Regions from separate parts of the Homo sapiens genome. Here region 2 is linked to region 1. Evidence: promoter capture Hi-C in human tissues and cell types (Jung and others, 2019). All regions are on one chromosome and are shown on one strand. Each heading gives the region's core, a stretch centred on a gene start or on the middle of the fragment in contact. The rest is flanking DNA. Distances are from core to core; before and after follow the strand shown. Region 1 holds the start of OTUD1 (OTU deubiquitinase 1). Region 2 overlaps KIAA1217.

Region 1 (4,007 bases), core at 547-3,046:
AGACAAGGATATGGCCATAGATTTGGCAAGTTCTTCGTCGCGTTTCCTTTGCACTTGAGTTTGTTTGCACCAGTTGTCGTACTCTGGGTTAGGATAGGAGTGATCAAATACAGCATCATAGTGTCCGTTACTGAGCCAACTGAGCCAAATACTAGGCCTCAGGGAATCCTCTGGGCCCAAATAATGAATCATGGTAGACACCGTGGGACTCTCCAGCCTCCCTCCAGTAGTTAAATGGATATTCACATTCAGCATCTGCCCCATGGCCAGCAACTCCGGGTACCCGGCCCATGCCCCGTCTTGGGCAGCAGCGATGATAAACTCCCCCACGTCGCCCTCAATCAGGGGGCTGAAGTGGTCGAGATGGTCGGCGATGTAGTGCACCGTCTGCTCCCTCAACTCCCGGTGCAGGCTCTGGTCCCCATACACCGTCTTGCTGACAGCTCGGTAGAGGCAGTTGCCGTCTGGAATGATGTGGAATCGGTACTTATTCCTCTGCCGCAGATACTTGTCCTGCTTCTCCACCTCGGCCAGGTATAGGGCCAGCTTCTCGTCTCTGGGATCCGACCTGGAGACGATCACCGGCTCCGCCGCACTACTCGGGGCGGCCTCGATGCTCCCGGCGGGGGGTGCCTCGGCCTCTGGGTCGGGCCTCCGCGCCGCGTCCCCACCGGGCGCGTCGCAGCGATCGCCGCCCCTCTCCCAGCCCCTGGGGCCCCTCTCCGCCAAGTGCTCTTCGCCCCACGGACCGGGGCCGGGATCGGGGCTCCCCGGGGTCGCCGCGGGGCCTCGGTGCTTGGCGGCGGCCAGGGCCTGGCGGTGCTCGCTCAGTCGGAAGTTCCGATCGGGCCCCTCCCGTGTCGCGTCCAAGCCCGCGGGCTCGGGGCAGTCGGGCCGCAGCAGCTCCTCCAGGAGCCAGGCCGAGGAGCCCCGCCGCGGCGGGACCGGGGCTGCGGGCGCCGGGGCGAGCAGGAGGCAGCGGCCGCGCGGGGCAGCGGCGGAGCCCGCGGCGCCGGGAACGGGATCGGGCCCGTGCAGCAGGAGCCTGTCGGCGCCCAGGGCCCGCACGGTGATCTGTGCGGTGGACGTGTAGTGCGGCGGCAGCGGCGGCTTGCAGGACGCGCCGGGCGGGCCGGCGGCGGCGGAGGCGGGCGCGGCGGCCCCGGACACCACCTCGAAGCAGGAGGAGAAGGCGGGCATCTTGGCGGCGGGGACAGCGGCGGCTTCCCGGTGCTCGGCGGCCGCGGCGGGCTGGCACTCACCGGTCTCGGGCTCGGGCGCGGCGCCGGCGGCTCCCGGGGGCTGCAGCGAGACCTTGAAGGGGGTAGCGGCGGCGGGTGGCGCGGGGGCGGCGGCCGTGGGACCCGGGGCCCCGGCGGGGTAGTGGGTGCAGACGCTGCTGTAGAGCTGCATGTCCCTGCCCGCCGCTCGGCCCCTTATAGGCGCGGCGAGCCCCGGAGCGGGGGACACACCCTCCGGGCCCGGGGGAGGGGGCCGGCGGAGCGCGGTGACCCAACGGCCCCAGAATAGAGATGAGCGAAAGGCAGCCGGCCGCCGCGAGTCAGCAGCCGCGAATAGCGCCCGGGTCCCGGCCAAATTCCTGCTGCGCCACAGCGCAGGGGGGCGGGGACGGGACGCGAGCTCGACCCCTGCCGGTGCGCTCGGCCCGCAGACCCGGGGCGCCGCGCCCGCTGCAGCTGCTTCGGCCCGCGGCGGCCGCTGGGGACTCACGGAGGAAGCCGCCCGCCCCGTTGGAGCGCGTCCCGCCGGCGAGGAGGAGCGCGGTGCGCGCGGAGGCCCGGGAGGCGGGGCCGCGGTTGTTTACCTCAGGCCTCGCGGCCGCGTCACGTGGACTCACTGGAATGCGCGGCTCTTTGCGGCGCCCGATTCAGTCGCGCCTGCTCGCCCCGCCCACTCCGGCCCGCGCCCCGCCCCCTACCGCGCTCCGCCGACGTCACGGGCGTGGCCCTCGGCGCGCGAGCGCGCGCGGGCGGGGCGAGGCCGGGGGCGCGGAGGCCTGAGCAGTCCTGGGATCCTGGCTGGGCCTCCCGCCCACGTGACTCCCACGGACCGCTTCCCCCACCTGGGCACTGGGCACTGGTTTCTGCGCTGCGCCACTCTCCTCAGCGGCTGCAGTGGATGCTGCGGGATGGGAGCTGCTTGGGGCGAGTTAGCATGCTCGGAAAGCTTGCGTGGCAGGAAAGCTTCCGGCATGGGTGTGGAGAACGGAATGCTGCCTTAAAGTCTGTTTGGCCTCTGCTGGTCATGGGCTACCATCCCTGCTTGCATTCACTACTGCCTCTTTTCTTTTATCTTTTTAGAGATGGGGGTCTTACCTGTCTCCGAAGCTAGAGTGTAGTGGCGCAGTCCATAGCTCACTGCAGCCTTGACTTCCCGGGCTCAAGCGATCCTCCCGCCTCAACCTCCAGAGTAACTGGAAACCACAGGTGTGCACCACCGCACCCGGCTAATTTTCTTTCTTTCTTTCTTTCTTTTTTTTTAAGGCGAGGGTCTCACCACAGTTGCCCAGTCTGGTGTCGAACTACTGGCCTCAAGCTGTTTCCCGCCTCGACCTCCTAAAGTGTTGGGATTATGGGTCCTAGCCACCACTCGTGGAACCGCCGCGTCTTTTCCTTTTTTTTTTTTTCTTTTTCTTTTTGAGGCAAGGTCTTGCTCTGCCTTCCAGGCTGAGTGCAGTGGCGCCATCATGTCCCACTGCGACCTCGACCTCCAGGGCCCAAGTGATCCCCCTTCCTCAGCCTTGCCTTGGGCAGGGATTACAGGTGCCCAGCTAGTTTTACCACTGTGTCTTTTCTATGCATTTCCTTGGACTCACCGGTAAGGGTGAGTCCGCTAGTGGATTCTCTTGCCTTGCTAAGACAAAACCAACTTTGCACCTCTGACCTATGCCATTTGGCAAATATCTGGCTTGGGGGAAAGCAAGGAAGCCTTTTAGGCTTTTATAAACAAGCTTTCTCAGAATACCAAATGCAGTATCACTTAGGGCCCTTTGAGAATAGGTGTGAATGCTAGCCAGAGGTCAAAAGCGGTGGAGAAAGTCGTGACCTGCATTCCGGGGCAAGATAGACTATAGAAAATACTTCTACCGAGTCTTTTTGTAATACCCGCCTTTGTAAGGGAAAGCCAGAGGTAGTGGGAGACTTTTGCTATATTCTGAGCTGTGATCAAATGCTAAATTAACAGGGCCTAAACATTCGAATTGAACCCAGAGGTTGTCCTAACATTTTAGAGATAGGGAGACTGAACCTGTAGGTGATGTAGGCTGTACTCCGGTCCCCACCTTTCCGGTGGAATGTGAATTCCAGGAATTGAGAGACTTGGGTCTTGCTCTTATATTTCCATCCCCTAACACCGTGCTTGGCACATAATTGGACCTAATTAATATTTACTAAGTGAATGAGTAGATGGAAAGCGAGTTTCCAAGGTTTGTCAGACAGTGGTGAAGCCAAGATTACTATCCAGGTCCCTTGACCCTAGCCAGGGCTTTTAATTATCTTTGGGCAGTATGACTGGCAGGGTCCCAGCTCAGGTCACTCCAGCCGCTTATGTAAATTAACTCAGAAGAAGGTAAATGACTGTCTAACTTTTCAAATTCTGGTAACTACCCCATTGGGAGCTTGAAGCTCTCATGGCTAATTAGAAAAAGGAAATTACCATCCTTGGATTTCATCACTGATTTGTTGAGCATCTGTTGCTCTGTGCATGAAGCACTTCACGCTTAACTCTTTCATTAGCTGGTGTTCTGAAACAGAAGACAAGACTGTTAACAAGGCCGTCACCAAATAATATTTACCATACCCACCACGTGCCTGGCAGGACTAGCATAACTGGAGCCTGAAGGGAGATAAGGAAAATATTAGAATTTAAACCCTAAAGCAAGAGTAGATATTAACAGGTTGGGGTAAATGCAGAAAACAGCAACAACAACAACAAAACACTAGGTCCACAGAAGACACACTACCTCTGATGTACCAAGTTAGCAGCAG
Region 2 (4,007 bases), core at 598-3,097, 1.0 Mb before region 1:
CCCTCCTCCCACATTCCCCAAAATATGCATGCATACACACACAGGCACACATGCATGTGCACACACATACACACACACCCTATCATAGCCCCTCCATTCTTCAAAAGGTAATCAAGAAGGATAAAGACTTGAGTGGAAAAAAGATTAGGAATTTTTTCTTCAACAGAATGCATTGGAAACCACGGAAATGATCTCCATATGAAGACACTTAGAAGCTGAACATTTGGGTCTTGAATTCTAGAGATGGCAGAGTTAGGGATATGGCTTCAAGGGTCAACCACACTGATGTAATAGTCAAACAAGTGGTAAGATAAAAATCACAAGTGCAAAGGTTCAGATAAAAAAGAGTAAATTTAAAAAAACAAAACAAATAAACTCCAAACTAGAGAAGCCTGCTTAAACACAGGCAAGAGGAAGAAGAGTTAGGGAATGAAGGAAGCTGAGGTGTCTGTGAATGCAGACAAGGTATTTAGACACAAAAGTGCCATGGAGACCAATGATTTATAAGGGGACCATTCACTGGTGTCAAATACAAAGATCAGTAGAAGAGGGGTGGGAGGCAGCAGTTACCTTGGGTATTGGGGAATAATTTAAGAGGTAGGGCCAATCTGGTAATTGTCTATATACAAGTAAAAATCAAAGACATGCAAGAGAAATTAAAGGAAGCAGAGAAGAGGGAGAGTATTAAATGATGAGAGCAGAGAGTCTTGGAAAGTTGTCTTAAAGCACACAAGAAGGTGGAGAAGCCCCCACACTATGAAAAAGCCACCAGGTTTGGTGACTAGCAAGTCACCCTCAAAGCAGAATTGTCCAGTTCCTTCAACAAACTGCTGGTATGGAAAAACGTGTACTTTTTGAGAGTCATGAAATGGAATGGTTCCATCTTCAAGTTGTACATTTGTGAATTTAAAACCCTGTGAGTACATATATAAATTTTGCAAAAGGGCCTGTTCCATATGGTGAGCTCAGTCCCTTGGGAACTGAATTATCAAAGCTCCTATCTGATGTAAGGAAACAAAAGCCACGCAATTAAATTAGATCAGGGTGGTGGGTAGAGAAACAGGAGCCAGGTATGCTGAGTTCCAGCCGAGAACCACAAGTCTCCTTAGACAGACTAGCCTCAAAAATGCTCAGCTAGATGCTAGATGAAAATTTAGTACACGTTTTCCCCACCAAGCATGCATTCCACGCACACTCTGAGGCCTAGTCTAGCACGCTTCCTGAGTAACACATTTCCAATCATAAAACCGCTCTGGGAAGACTGTTTTAGATGGAGAGTTTTACATTTTCTTTTCTTTCAAAGGCAAGATATTACATTCATTGGTTAAGGAAAGTCTCAGGAGCCCCTGAGGAGTTCTGGTGTGACTTTTGTTGCCCCTCTGCTTATTCCAACTGATGTTTTTCATGACATGCATGTTTATTGGTCATAAGCAGGCAGCTGGGAGGTCTGTGCCAGGCTGTCTCTGGAGGCTGGGGAGTGAGGTCTAATGACATCAGGGGCAGGACTGCAGTGACTGACTCATGTGAGTAGTTAGCATCGAATTCCTTCATGGCCACGCTCACATTGCAAACATAAGGGAGGACGGAGTTCCCTAACCCCACGCTGCAGCGTGGTTTAGTCTACAACAATTGATGCTTGCTCTGTTCTCTGTTTCTGTTCTCCACCATGGGCAGTGGGTTGTGCAGCTGGGCTCCAGAGGCAGGGCTCAACAAAGCTTCCTGCCCTTTAATGGCAATGCAGCCACATTCATCAAGAAAGGAAAAAGAATTCCAACCTGCAGAGCCAAAAGGTGAGGGCAGCTGAATTCCATGCCTTTTAGCGTCTGCAATCTGTGAACAGGAACCAAGTTGCAAACTGCAGGCATGATCACACCTAGCTGGCTTTGAAACCGCTTTCTATTTCTCATTTCTAAGTAATCTGCATTGAAACACAAAAGCTTTTCTGCTGGTTAGATGGTGAACATTTACTGTCCCTTCATTTGGGGACAATGATTGAGTTTCTCACACACACAAAATGAGGGCTTAAAGTAGGCTCTGGGTAACCCAGAAAAAGTGATCAGCAGGGTTTCATCTTGAAGTAAGAACAGAACCACTCTGCAGAAACCCACAGCACATGTTCTGCATATCCTGATCAGCTTTGTTCATACGGTCAATATTCGATACTCTCAGTCCTCACTGCTGGTCCTTACGTAGGTACCAGAGCTGCTGGAGGGTTAAAACAGGTGTCTTTCCAGCCACAAACAAGATTCTCAGAGGCGATTCTGGGGCACCGGTGTGGAAATGGCTCTATGTGATAGGAACAGAACTCTCAGCACCATGGAACTCCAGGGTGAAGGCTAGACATAGCAAAAAATAAAGATATTCAAGGAGCGAAGACATTGATGAATGTCTCCAAGAAAGAGAATAACAGAGTAATAAAAGGCAAATGGTGCTGTAATATTTAGTCCATGCTTCACGATTGGCATGACTCAATCTGTCTCCATGTGGCTCTGGTTTACACATAAAGTATAACTGGCAAAATAAGGCTGAAAATCCTAGAATTTCTGAAGTAGCGACACAGCTTTCAATTCAAGTCACACATCATTTCTGACACAAAAATAACAGCAGTTGAGTACGTGAGAGGCCTTTCCCTCCAGAAGTGTAGGCTCTGATCCCACAATGTCGTCATTCATATTCCAGTCCAGAAGGACAGACCTTCTCCCAGCACTTTCAGCTAGATCTGCTGGCTTCTTTTATGGTTCTAAACTTACCCAATATGGAAAGCAGAATGCTGGTCCCTGAAAGATGTCTGCATCCTAGTCCCCTCAACCTGTGACTACATCAGGTTACATGGAAAAGGGGGAGTCAAGATTGCCAGTCAGCTGACCTTGAAATAGGGAGATTTTTCTGGAGGATCAGGGAGGCTCAATGTCCTTAAAGTGTCCTTAAAAGTGGACATGGGAGGGTTAGGGATGTGAGCATGGAAGCAGGGTCAAAGGGAAGCTATCTTGCTGGGTTTGAAGATGGAGGAAGAGGACAGCAAACCAAGAAATGTTGATGACCTCTAGAAGTTGGGGGAAAAAAAAAAAAAAGAAAAGATTCTCCCTAGGGCCTCCAGAAAAGAATGCATACCTGCTGGTGACCCCTTATGTCAGACCAGAGACTTTCAGTCTACAGACTCTAAAATTTAAGAGAGTAAATCTGTGTTGTTTTAAGTCACTGAATTTGTCCTAATTTATTACAGCAGCAACAGGAAACTAATATGTACTATCAGGAAGCAGAGACAGCCTCGCTCAGGAACAAAACTGCAGCTCCAAGACAGAACAGTGCCTGGGTTTCTTTGGCAATAAAAGGTAATCATTTATTTATTTATTTTTCTAGCTAAACTTGAGCATCCAGCCAAGTGCTAATCTGTAGAAAAGATGAGAAAAAATGGCACAGTGTCTTCCAAATGTGTGTGTGTGTGTGTAGGGGGTGTACAGCTGAGAAGCTAATCTTCTTTTTACCTCCCAGTTTTGCTACAGAGGAATGTAGCCTTATTTTTAGAAACTCAATCCCTTTCTAGTGGACCTGCATTAATATGATCTTAAAATCTGCTTTTTCAGTTTCTCCTTCTTTTTTCTTCAAAACATCCCTGTGTGCTTTGAATGTTTGGATAATCTCCTGAGACAATCTAAAGCTAGAGAATTTTAGTTCCCAAATCATGCGGATTTTTGTATTATGACCTCAGCATGGCTCAGAGAGGATATGGTAATATTTAAGACAGTACAACAACAAAATTCTTCCAGGGTAGCTCCTGAATTAGAAGGTGAGAAATTGAATTAGAATGTTAGAACTTGGAAGAGCTAATGTAAGAGTATGAATAGATTTTCCATGCAATTGTGCACCTTGCTGTTTGCCTTTTTGTATGTTAGGTTTGCTTTAATTGGAGAAAGAAATGCAAGAGATCTTCTGAGTCAGTTAATATACTGTGGACCAGGGACCCTTTTATAGGAAGATTTTCAGAATTCATTTAAAGTAAGGACATA

What was found. Contacts are between HindIII fragments. The study calls those that stand out against the background at their distance.
Region 2: a contact is called between a fragment that was not itself captured here and the fragment with the promoter of OTUD1 in region 1, in 1 of the 25 tissues and cell types used here (dorsolateral prefrontal cortex).

Annotation. Positions count from the first base shown.
Region 1 is chr10:23,436,864-23,440,870 of GRCh38, reverse strand. It overlaps OTUD1 (OTU deubiquitinase 1), which reads right to left and starts at 1,796. Exons shown (of 1, transcript NM_001145373.3): 1 at 1-1,796. The coding sequence starts at 1,413. RefSeq lists silencers at 578-947, 1,088-1,427, 1,478-2,067. The HindIII fragment of the contact is 8,203 bases long and covers 1-2,588 here.
Region 2 is chr10:24,438,715-24,442,721 of GRCh38, reverse strand. All of the region lies in intron 5 of KIAA1217, which reads right to left. LOC124902395 (a long non-coding RNA gene) reads left to right here and starts at 3,256. Exons shown (of 2, transcript XR_007062090.1): 1 at 3,256-3,332. RefSeq lists an enhancer at 1,879-1,928. The HindIII fragment of the contact is 3,642 bases long and covers 27-3,668 here.